2 separate regions of the Homo sapiens genome follow, and region 1 is linked to region 2. Evidence: promoter capture Hi-C in 16 types of primary human blood cells and fetal thymus (Javierre and others, 2016). All regions are on one chromosome and are shown on one strand. Each heading gives the region's core, a stretch centred on a gene start or on the middle of the fragment in contact. The rest is flanking DNA. Distances are from core to core; before and after follow the strand shown.

Evidence for each region. Contacts are between HindIII fragments. The CHiCAGO score rates a contact against its expected background, and 5 or more counts as called.
Region 1: a contact is called between the fragment with the promoter of NOC2L here and the fragment with the promoter of TNFRSF18 in region 2, in 2 of 17 cell types (erythroblasts and M0 macrophages). The highest score is 6.7, in erythroblasts.

What each region holds. Positions count from the first base shown.
Region 1 is chr1:956,475-961,317 of GRCh38, forward strand. NOC2L (NOC2 like nucleolar associated transcriptional repressor) reads right to left here and starts at 2,782. Exons shown (of 19, transcript NM_015658.4): 1 at 2,741-2,782; 2 at 2,455-2,607; 3 at 625-799; 4 at 420-551. The coding sequence starts at 2,766. KLHL17 (kelch like family member 17) reads left to right here and starts at 4,110. Exons shown (of 12, transcript NM_198317.3): 1 at 4,110-4,326; 2 at 4,819-4,843. The coding sequence starts at 4,220. RefSeq lists enhancers at 2,050-2,907, 2,566-2,675 and silencers at 2,786-3,045, 4,004-4,313, 4,334-4,663. The HindIII fragment of the contact is 14,217 bases long and covers 1-4,843 here.
Region 2 is chr1:1,204,792-1,209,772 of GRCh38, forward strand. TNFRSF18 (TNF receptor superfamily member 18) reads right to left here and starts at 1,801. Exons shown (of 5, transcript NM_004195.3): 1 at 1,594-1,801; 2 at 579-701. The coding sequence starts at 1,780. RefSeq lists silencers at 384-584, 3,457-3,546, 4,127-4,236 and an enhancer at 3,381-4,260. The HindIII fragment of the contact is 24,444 bases long and covers 1-4,981 here.

The DNA of each region.
Region 1 (4,843 bases), core at 1,532-4,031, 250 kb before region 2:
GGTATCTGGAGCTCTCCGTATCCTTGTCCCTGGAAAAAAACACTGTGAGAGGCTCAGAAGGACCCCAGCTCCACCAACCAACAAAGGCACAGTCCGTCCCACCCACAGCGGGACTGACTTTGGGGAGTGGGGCGCCAACAGAGCCCCTGGAATCTACCCAAAAGTGAACACACAGTCCTGGGGCAACCAAGCAAGCAGGAGGAGCAACGTGTTGTCACTTGCGCTGAAGAAGGCTCCAAGCGTCCCCTGCGTGGAGAACAGCCCCTCCCACCAGCACAGCCTCAGGCGCCTCAGGTGAGGCAAGGCCAGATCTCTGCCTGGGCACCCAGCTGCCCGCCCCTCGCTGCTGCTCACCTCAGGTGAGGCAAGGCCAGATTTCTGCCTGGGCACCCAGCTGCCCGCCCCTGGCTGCTGCTCACCTTTGCTGCCTGCTTCCATCTCTCAACCATGGCGACGGTCACAGGAACAGAATTCTTCTTCCCCTTCAGCCCTCTGGGGACTCTGTCCCCATCTTCTCCTTCCTCCGCTCCATCCTCCTCCTCACTGGCTTCCTGCACAGAAAGGCTGAGCTGAAGGAGAGTGTAGAGACAAGTGCCCCCCTTCTGGTTTGGCCCACGCCCTCACCTCCAGCACATCTGGCAGGGAGTGGAACGGCCCCTCTTCCTCCTCAGAGCTGTCCGAGTCGCTGAAGTTTAGCAGGCTCTGGTCATTCTCCTGCAGGAACTTGTAGAACTCGGGGTCTCTGTCCTTCAGCCGAGAGAGCTGGTCTTTGTGCTCAGAGGCACGGCCTTTACGCCGGCTGAGGAGGCAGAAGTCAGCGACCCCAGTGGGAAGTGGAAGTAGAGGGGGCGGGGAGTGGCCTACAGGGTCAGTCTACTCCCTTCACAAGGGTTACCAACTAGCAAGACAGGATTGCCAGGAGGTACGTTTTTGGCAGACTCACGTCTCCTACCCAACAACCTCTACAACATACCCTCAAACACACTACACAGGCCCCCCAGCCGCGGTCTTCCCTGGACTTGCTGTGCCTGCGCCCTGCGCTACACAGGCCCCCAGCCGCGGTCTTCCCTGGACTTGCTGTGCCTGTGCCCTGCGCTACTTTTGCCTGATGGTGGCTTCACCCTTCCAGAGGCTCAGACTAAAGGCAAATCTCTGTCTCTAATACCCAGCACGCAACTTGTCATCAGATCTCATCAGCAACACCTTCAAAACCGTTCGTGCCTCCTCTCAAACCACCACATAGTTCAATTCTCAGTTAACCTAAAGGTCTCTCTGTTTCCACCCTTGTCACCTACAAGGCACTCCACCGCTCAAACCCAGAAGTAACTCCCTGTTTTACGAGGCAATCTTATGACGGTCTACGGCACCTGGCTCTTCATCACCCTTCTGGGCTCATCTACCCCTATTCACCCCCTCACTCCTGCCGTAGCCACGTTTACCTCTGTACTCTCCCCAAATGCTCCCACTGCAAGGCTTTTGCTGTTTTCTGCTGCCTGAAATCCTAAGACACGTTTCCCCTACTGTCTGTGTGGCCTCCTTGTTCGAGGTCTTTATTCAGACGTCATCTTCTCAAACAACCACCTCCGCTTTTTTTTTTTTTTTTTTTTCTCCTGAGGCGGAATCTCACTCTGTCGCCCAGGCTGGAGTGCAGTGGCGCAATCTCCACTCACCGCAACCTCCGCCTCCCGGGTTCAAGCGATTCTCCTGCCTCAGCCTCCCGAGTAGCTGGGACGACAGGTGTGTGTCACCACGCCAGGCTAATTTTTGTATCTTTTGATTTCTTTCTTTTTCTTTTTGAGATGGAGTCTCACTCTCTCACCCAGGCTGGAATGCAATGGTGCCATCTCGGCTCACTGCAACCTCCGCCTCCCAAGTTCAAGCGATTCTCCTGCCTCAGCCTCCCGAGTAGTTGGGATTACAGGTGCCCACCACGCCCGGCTAATTTTTATATTTTTAGTAGAGACATGATTTTTCCGTGTTGGTCAGGCTGGTCTCGAATTCCTGACCTCAGGTAATCTGCCCGCCTCGGCCTCCCAAAGTGCTGGCATTACAGGCGTGAGCCACCGAGCACAGCCTCCGCTCCTTCTAACAGAGCAACTCGGCTCCCCTGCAACTCTCTCTTCAGCCCCTCTGTCCTTCCTTTCCCTCCCCAGCACTTATCTCTCTTCTACCGAACTGCAGGCGGTGATTTCACCCAAGAACGTGAGAGTTCTCCTAGATCGGGAAGAGATTTTTGCACAACTCACCAACATACGCTCCCTGCCTAGGACAGAGTTTGGCACGGAACAGGAGCTCAGTAAACATCGGATGAAAGAGTAAGTTAAGCTGAAAGGACTGGGGGGCAGAGGTCGGCGATCCTTAGGCCTTGGCCCTGAGACCCCAGGCGAGGTCAGCAACCCAACCGGGGTGGGACAGGACGAGCAAGAGGTTCTGCTCACGCATGTCCCCACTAACCTGGCCGAGGGGCTCCCGCCCGGCTTATCCGGACTCCGGGCAGCCTCGCGTGCTTCCCGTGTCTCCGCTTGTGGAGAATTTTCGGACTCGGATTCGGACTCGGAGTCAAAGCCCGAAGCTAGGAACTCGTCCACCGTCAGCTCCGCCAGGCGCCTGCGGGTCACGCAGGAGTCACAGCTGCCCGCACGCCCAGCTCGCCCCAGCCCCGCTGAGAGGAGCAAGAAAAGCCCCCTTGGATACAGACACCCACCGGGAGGCCAAATCGGCCCTCGGACCCGCGGCTTACCTCTTGCGGCTCCCCGCAGCTGCCATGACACCAACCCGAAGCGTGCACCCCACTTCCGGCCCCAGAATGCCGCGCGGCTGCGCACTTCCGCCGCCCAGGCCCCGCCCCTTTCCCCGCCCCGCCGCGCCACGCCCAGCCGAGTGGCTCTATGGTTCTCCGACCGCAACGCCGGCGGCCTCAGGGCGGGAGGGCGCGTTCGCGTGCTCGGTGCGGGCAGCCCCGGTGGGGCCCAGATGCGCCTCCCGCTCGGCGCCCGGCTCCGTAGGACGCGGTGACGCCGGTGTCCGCCCCGGGGAAGACCGGGAGTCCCGCCGCGCCCGCAGCCCACCCGGCGCTCCGAAGGCACGCGCCTGCGAGGACGCCAGACTGCAACGGCGGGGCTCCTATGCAAAGAGCTCCCACAAATCAACAATAAAAAGCAGGGAGTCCAGTGGAAAACGCGAGGGGCAGTGGGAACCGCACTGATGTCGCCAGCTCGACAAAAGACGGGCGACCCGAGGGCCAGGCTGGCTTCGCCTCCGATCCGCGGAGACCGGGCCAGCGCCACGAACACCACGCAGGGCGCTCCCCGTCCATGGCCCTCTGGGTGCCGACCGCGGCTCTTCCCGGGGACGCCGCACGGGACGAAGACGGTGGGGAGGCCGGCGCCTTCCTTCCCGCTACCAGCCTGACACCCGGGCCCCCGGGCCTGGACAGCCAGACCCCGCGACAAGGGCGCCGCGGGGCGCAGGCACGGCTCCCCCAGCCCTGGCGCTGAGGGGGCGCGTGAGGCGAACACGGGCGGATTGGCCTCGGGGTCCCATTCGACTTCTTGGTGCCGCGGGGCCCCGGGGCTCCCCGGAGGAGAGCAAGTTAGGGGGTCGGGGGAGCGGGGATGGCTTCCGGGGGAGGAGGAGGGCGAGGCCTGGGGGGCTCCTCGGAGGAGGAAGAGGGCGAGGCTTAGGGGGGCTCCTTGGAGGAGGAGGAGGGCGAGGCTTAGGAGGGCTCTTCGGAGAAACAGGAGGGCGAGGCCTGTGGGGGGCTTCCCGGGGAAGAAGGAAGGCGAGACCTAGGGGGGCTTCCCGGAGGAGGAGGAGGAGGAGGGCTAGGCCGGGGGCTTCCCAGAGGAGGAGGATGGCGGGGCCTGGGGGGCTTCTCGGAGAAGGAAGATGGCGAGGCCTAGGGGGGCTTCTCGGAGGAGGAGGAGGGCGAGGCCTGGTGGGGGGCTTCCCGGAGGAGGAGGATGGCGGGGTCTGGGGGTGCTTCTCGGAGGAGGAGGCGGACCCGGGGCGCAGCGCTGGAAGAATCCGCGTCCAACGTCTAGTCCCCGAAGCCTCTCGGGAGGCGGGGCGGGCGGCGCCGAGAAACAGCGGCTGCGGGCGGGAGCGGCGGGAGTGAGCGACACAGAGCGGGCCGCCACCGCCGAGCAGCCCTCCGGCAGTCTCCGCGTCCGTTAAGCCCGCGGGTCCTCCGCGAATCGGCGGTGGGTCCGGCAGCCGAATGCAGCCCCGCAGCGAGCGCCCGGCCGGCAGGACGCAGAGCCCGGAGCACGGCAGCCCGGGGCCCGGGCCCGAGGCGCCGCCGCCTCCACCGCCGCAGCCGCCGGCGTGAGTGGGCGGGGGTCGGGGCGCGGGGGGCGGCCTCGGGACCTGCGCGGCCCCCGCCCTCGCGTCCGCTCGCAGAAGGGGCGGGGGCCGCTTCCGAGGGCCGGGGGAGGTCGGGACTCAGGTGCGGAGCGGGGTCGGCCCGGAGTAGGTTCCCCACCCGCGCCCCGCGCGCCCAGGACGCGACTCCCGCTGCGGTCCCGAGAGGGCGGCTAGGGACGCGGAGGAGCTGAGCTCGTGGGGGCGCCGGGAAGCGGGGCCGGACGCGGGGCTCTGTTCGCGGCTCTGACTACGCCCCAGGGGAGCAGGGGCGCAGCGGAGGCCTGGACACGGCGCGCTCCGGGGCGGGGGTCCTTGGCGGAGGTCAGGCGAGGGCTGCCGGCGCCCCCGTCGCACCAGGGGCTGGGTCCCCGCGGGCTGCCCGGGCCCCCCAGCGGCTCCAGGGCGGGCGGGCGGCTCCAGCGGGGCGAAGCCTGACCCGCCCGCCTCCTGCAGCCCCGAGGCAGAGCGCACGCGGCCC
Region 2 (4,981 bases), core at 551-3,050:
AGGACCCAGTAGAACAGAGGGTGGAGAACAGTGAGGGTCCCAGAGAGAGTGAGGCTGGGTCCCAGTTGACCCCAGACCCTGCCCCGTCCAACCTGACACAACCTCCCCAGTTGTACCTTCTCCCAGCTCTCATGTGCCCAGCCTGACCTCTCCTGTCAGGTAAACAAGCCGCTAAGAGGACTTGAGCTGCTCCTTCCAGAACAGGGTGCAGCCCCAGGCCCCAGACAGGACTCCGGGGGGCACAGGGCAGGCTCTTTCAGTATGTGGTGAGGACAGACAGGATGGGTGTCCCGGGCCTGAGAGCCAGACAGCTCCTGGAACCCGCCCCCACCTCCCCGCAGGGTTCTCACAGCCCTCGTGCTGGATGGAGAAGCCCAGGCTGAGAAAGCAGGGACAGGACACCCCCAGAGCTTCATGGCCTGTGGTGCCTGAGCATGGCCTGGCCTGCCCGGCCTCACAGGACTCCGGACCCCACACACCACATGTCCTCGCCGGACACCTGTGCCCACGAGCTCTGCCTCGGGCCCTAGTGGAACCCCTGGCCTGTGTGGACTCCCAGAGGCACCTCCAGGACTTACCCTGGGACTGTACCCCCTGGCCTGGGGGACAAGGGTGGTGCCGGCAGGTCGTGCAGCAAGGGTCTCCGCAGTGGAATTCAGGCTGGACACACATGCAGTCCCACTCGGAACAGCACTCCTCGCCTGGGCAGGAGACAGGCCAGCCCCCCAGCAGCTGGGCTGAGGCCCCCTCCTCCCCAGGCCTCCCCTCGGCCCTCCAGGGGAGTGAGGTTGTCCGTTCTCCACCCACAGTTGGCTCCAGGGAGCAGAGGGCTCCTGGCTGGGAGTCTGGACCCTGGGTTTATCCAGCTGTCTCTTTCTCCTGGGGCCATGTGGCCTGGCTACTCCCCCTTTGCGCCCCACAGCTGCCCCTGCCCAGGTGCTAACTCCATATGCAACCAGGAGCTGCCCCTGCAGGACCCAGGGGTGGCCCCCAACAGTGCACAGTCCCCTGGAGGCCCGTCGACACCTCAGAGGCCGCCTGCCTGGTGTCTGGGCGCTGCTGTCCCCACCACCAGCCACACTGGGCCTCCGGACAGAGCCTCCCTTCCCAACCCACAGGCCCTGGAGGAAGAAGCTCTGGGGTGACTTCCCTGCCAGCTTCCTCTCCAGACCAGCCGTGTCAGCTGAACCCTCATCCCCAGGTGCAGGTCAGAGGCAGGCAGCAGGCCAGACGGTGGTGCAGGGGGGCCCTCAACTGGGCAGGAGGGGGCTGGGCGATGGCCAAGGGCTCACGACCCGCCCAGCAGGACCTGGAACAGCCGTCCTCCACCTCCAGACCCCAGACCCCTCTTGAGGGCGCTCCCACCTGGCTCACCCCTGCTCCCGGCCGGGGCCACTGGCTGGAGCTGGCACACCTCCGCCTCCCTCTGGGATCCTGCCTCCCTCCGGAAGGCTCCCGCTGCTGGCGGCTCTGTGCCCACCCTCCTTAGACCTCAGCAACGCCGGTCTGAGCACGGGAAGGGGGGCGCCCACCCATCCCGGCTTCCGCGGGACGCCTTGGCCGGTCCGCGTTAAGTAAACGCGGTTTACTTACCCGGGTAATCGCGGCAGCAGCGCGTCGTGTGAACCCGGCAGCAGCGCGCGTCCGTTCCCGTCCCAAGCAGGAGGCGCCCAGGGCCGCACCCGGGACCCCCGGTGGGGCGCTGACCCAGGCTGAGCGCGCACAGCAGCGCCAGGCCGCACAGGGCCCGAAACGCGCCCATCGCCCCGTGCTGTGCCATGCTCGGGTTTCAAGAGCCCACAGCCAGTTGGACACGCCCCGTCCCCGTCCTCACCCGCCCTGCCCGGAGGTGGCTGGGACCGTTCATGACCTGAGAATCCCGACCCAGGTGAAGTGCGTGTGAGGAGGGGGTGTAGACACTGCGGACACAGCCCGGTCCCCCGCAGGTCGCCGGCAGGGGCGGGGAAACCAGGCTGGCGGGGATCAGAAAGGTTTTCTATGCAAAGTCTGCGGCCACATTGGTGTCCCCAGTGCAGGGGGCGGCGTTTATAGCACCTTGTCCCATGGGGGCCCCTTGGAGGGCGGGGGTCAGCCAATCACTCCTCCATCCCACTGCCTCCGGGTGGTATCTGCGAGTCCCCGAGAGGTCTCCACAAATTCTGGCCACCCCCAGAGAGCCTCAACCATGGAGCCCCGTGCTGGGGAACCCCACAGAATGGGGACAGGGACCCCTCGGCTCAGCACACCCCACCTGGCTGGCTTCAGGTGTGAAACTCACCATGGGCTGCAGGCCTGTGGGCTCCCCTCCCCCTTGCTTGCAGCTCTCCAGGACCCCCCTCAGGCCAACCTGGGAAGTTCCCCGGGGCTTGGGAGGGGCACCAGGAGGAGCTGGTGGGGAGACGAGAGGGTGCTGGCGCCTCCTCGGGACAGTGTCAGCCGCCCCCGCGGGCACCCAGGGCCCGGTCTCTCAGAGCCACCTTCATCCGTCACACCAGACAGATCCAGGTCCCGGAGGGAGTTGAGGAGGAGCCCCTCGCAGAGCTCTTGGGAGACTGTCCTATGTCTTTCTGAGCCTCAGTTTCCCCTGTGGGCACCGAGGGGTTCTGGGACCCTGCCTCCACCAGGAAGCCTCCCTGGATTGCCCAGCCCTGCTTCTGCGCCGTCCAGCACAGGTGGAGACCCCCATGAATGCTGGGGGTGGGGGCTCTCGGGAACGTGAGCGTGGATGTGGTTCAACACCCTTTTGAGACCTGCAGCCACCGCCTCACCCCGTAAGGCGGTTCCTCCTTTTCCAAGGTAAATGACAGGAATTAGCTGTTTGTGACACCCCGGAGTTCTCAAATCCAAGATGTAGGAGCCTGCCTTGGAGAGGCAGCCCTCAGACACTGCAGAGAAGGAAGGGGTCTCTGCAGCTCCAGGCCGCCCCGACGCTCGGAAGGAAAGGGGTGGGGCCAGCTGGGCCTGGGGGCCTTTGAGAGGCCTGGAGATCTTCAGCCCCGAGGCTGGGAGGGGGTCTGGGCCCCTGGATAGAAAGAGGCGCCATCAGTGGCTCACGCCCGTAATCCCAGCATTTTGGGAGGCCGAGGTGGGCCTCGGATCACCTGAGGTCAGGGGTTCGAGACCAGCCTGACCCACATGGAGAAAGCCCGTCTCTACTAAAAATACAAAAAAAATTAGCCAGGCGTGGTGGCGCACGCCTGTAATCCCAGCTACTCGGGAGGCTGAGGCAGGAGAATTGCTTGAACCTGGGAGGCAGAGGTTGCGGCGAACCAAGATGGCACCATTGCACTCCAGCCTGGGTGACAGAGCGAGACTCCATCACAAAAAATAAAGAATGCTCATCAGACCACACGGTGTGAGTCATCCATCTAGAGGCAGGGACAGAGTTAGAGGAGCGAGCAGTTTATGGGGCCAAGTGGGAGGCGGCCAGCGGGCAGAGGAGCCCCTCCCCCCCGCCCCGTGGCGCAGCTGACACTTTGAACAGCCGGAGAGCAGCTTGCCACACAGGGTGGTCCCCGGAGGGGCTGCAGGGGTGTGACGTCCACCCTCCCATCCCTCTCGCCGCAGAAGGCCCCTCCCCGGCTCCCCGTGACTCCTATCCTTGGGCTGCGAGGCTGGAGGTGACTTGTTCATCTTATTGAGCAGCTCACCGGTGACACAAATGACGGGGCATTCACACAGCAGAGCAGCCCACGGGCCGGGCGAGGGACAGCCCTTGCGTACGTCCAGAAGGGCAGCTGTGAGGCCCCACGGGGAGGGTGCAGATGGGCACTGAGCCAGAGTTCAGGCAGGGCCTTCGGCACAGATGGCACAGGAGTTGCCAGCAGAGATGGCGTCAGGCGAGGGGGCGGGGAGGGTGAGCATGGAGACCAAGAGGAGGTGGCCCCGTGTCCATCTGGGGGTGCGGCAAGGGGTCCTGCTGGGGAATAAGTCCCACGGGGCCTGGGGGGTGCTGTGCCCAGAGGGGAGGAGACAGGAAGCGATGGGTATGGGCGCCAGGTTTGGGGAGGAGGCCCCTTTCCCATAGCCGTCGACCTGCGGGCCCCACAGGATCTGGCCGCTCCAGTCCCGGCCACCTGACCCCTTCCCCCACCCACCCGCCATCCTGCCTGGAGGTCTGGCCTCGCCTGCCCCACGGGGCGGGGGGCGGGGGGCTCTCAGAGGCGCGGCCCCAACCCTGTGCAGGGCCTGCAGGCTGAACCGTGTGCAGGAACCCGGGGAACTCGGTGAAGGTGCTGGATGGGGGACAGGACGGCCTCTGACTTCCCTATGCTGCGGGGGGGGAGGCTTGTGGTTAGCAGAGAGTGGGTGGAAGACAGAGGTTTGAGGAGAGAGAGACCCAGGGGAGAAAACCAGCTGCAGAGGCAGGAGGGGTCCAGGGCAGCCCGAGGCCAGAGATGGGCGTCTTCCTTACAGCCACCTGTGGTCCCGGCACCTTGGGCTGTTGTGAGTGGCGCGTGGCGCTCCCACTGTGCACCCCCGGGGCCGGTTCCCCACTTCCACGACACCGGCAGGGGGGAGCCATCCGCCAGGCACAGGAGGCCTGGACAGCCGTGGGCAGCGTGCGCTGTTGGAGGACGCAGGGAGAGGGAAGGCTGGCCCAGGGACGCTGTGTGGGGCAGCGGGTGCAGCTGCGGGGCTGGGCCACACCAGCCACGGTAGCCGGAGTGTCCAGGCTGTGCCAGGCCCTCAGCAAAACCTTCCATGAGGCTTCATGTGTTTCTTCTTAAGTAATTTTTTTAAATTTCTTTTTTTTTTTCCAGTCACGTCTCACTGCAGCCTCCATCTCTTGGGCTCAAGTGATCCTCCCACCTCGGCCTCCCAAGTAGCCGGGACCACAGGCATGCACCACCACACCCGGCTGATTTTTTCTATTTTTCATAGAAAAGGGTCTTGCCATGTTACCCAGGCGGGTCTCAAACTCCTGAGCTCAGACGATCGTCTGGCCTCAGCCTCCCAAAGTGCTAGGATTCTAGGCGTG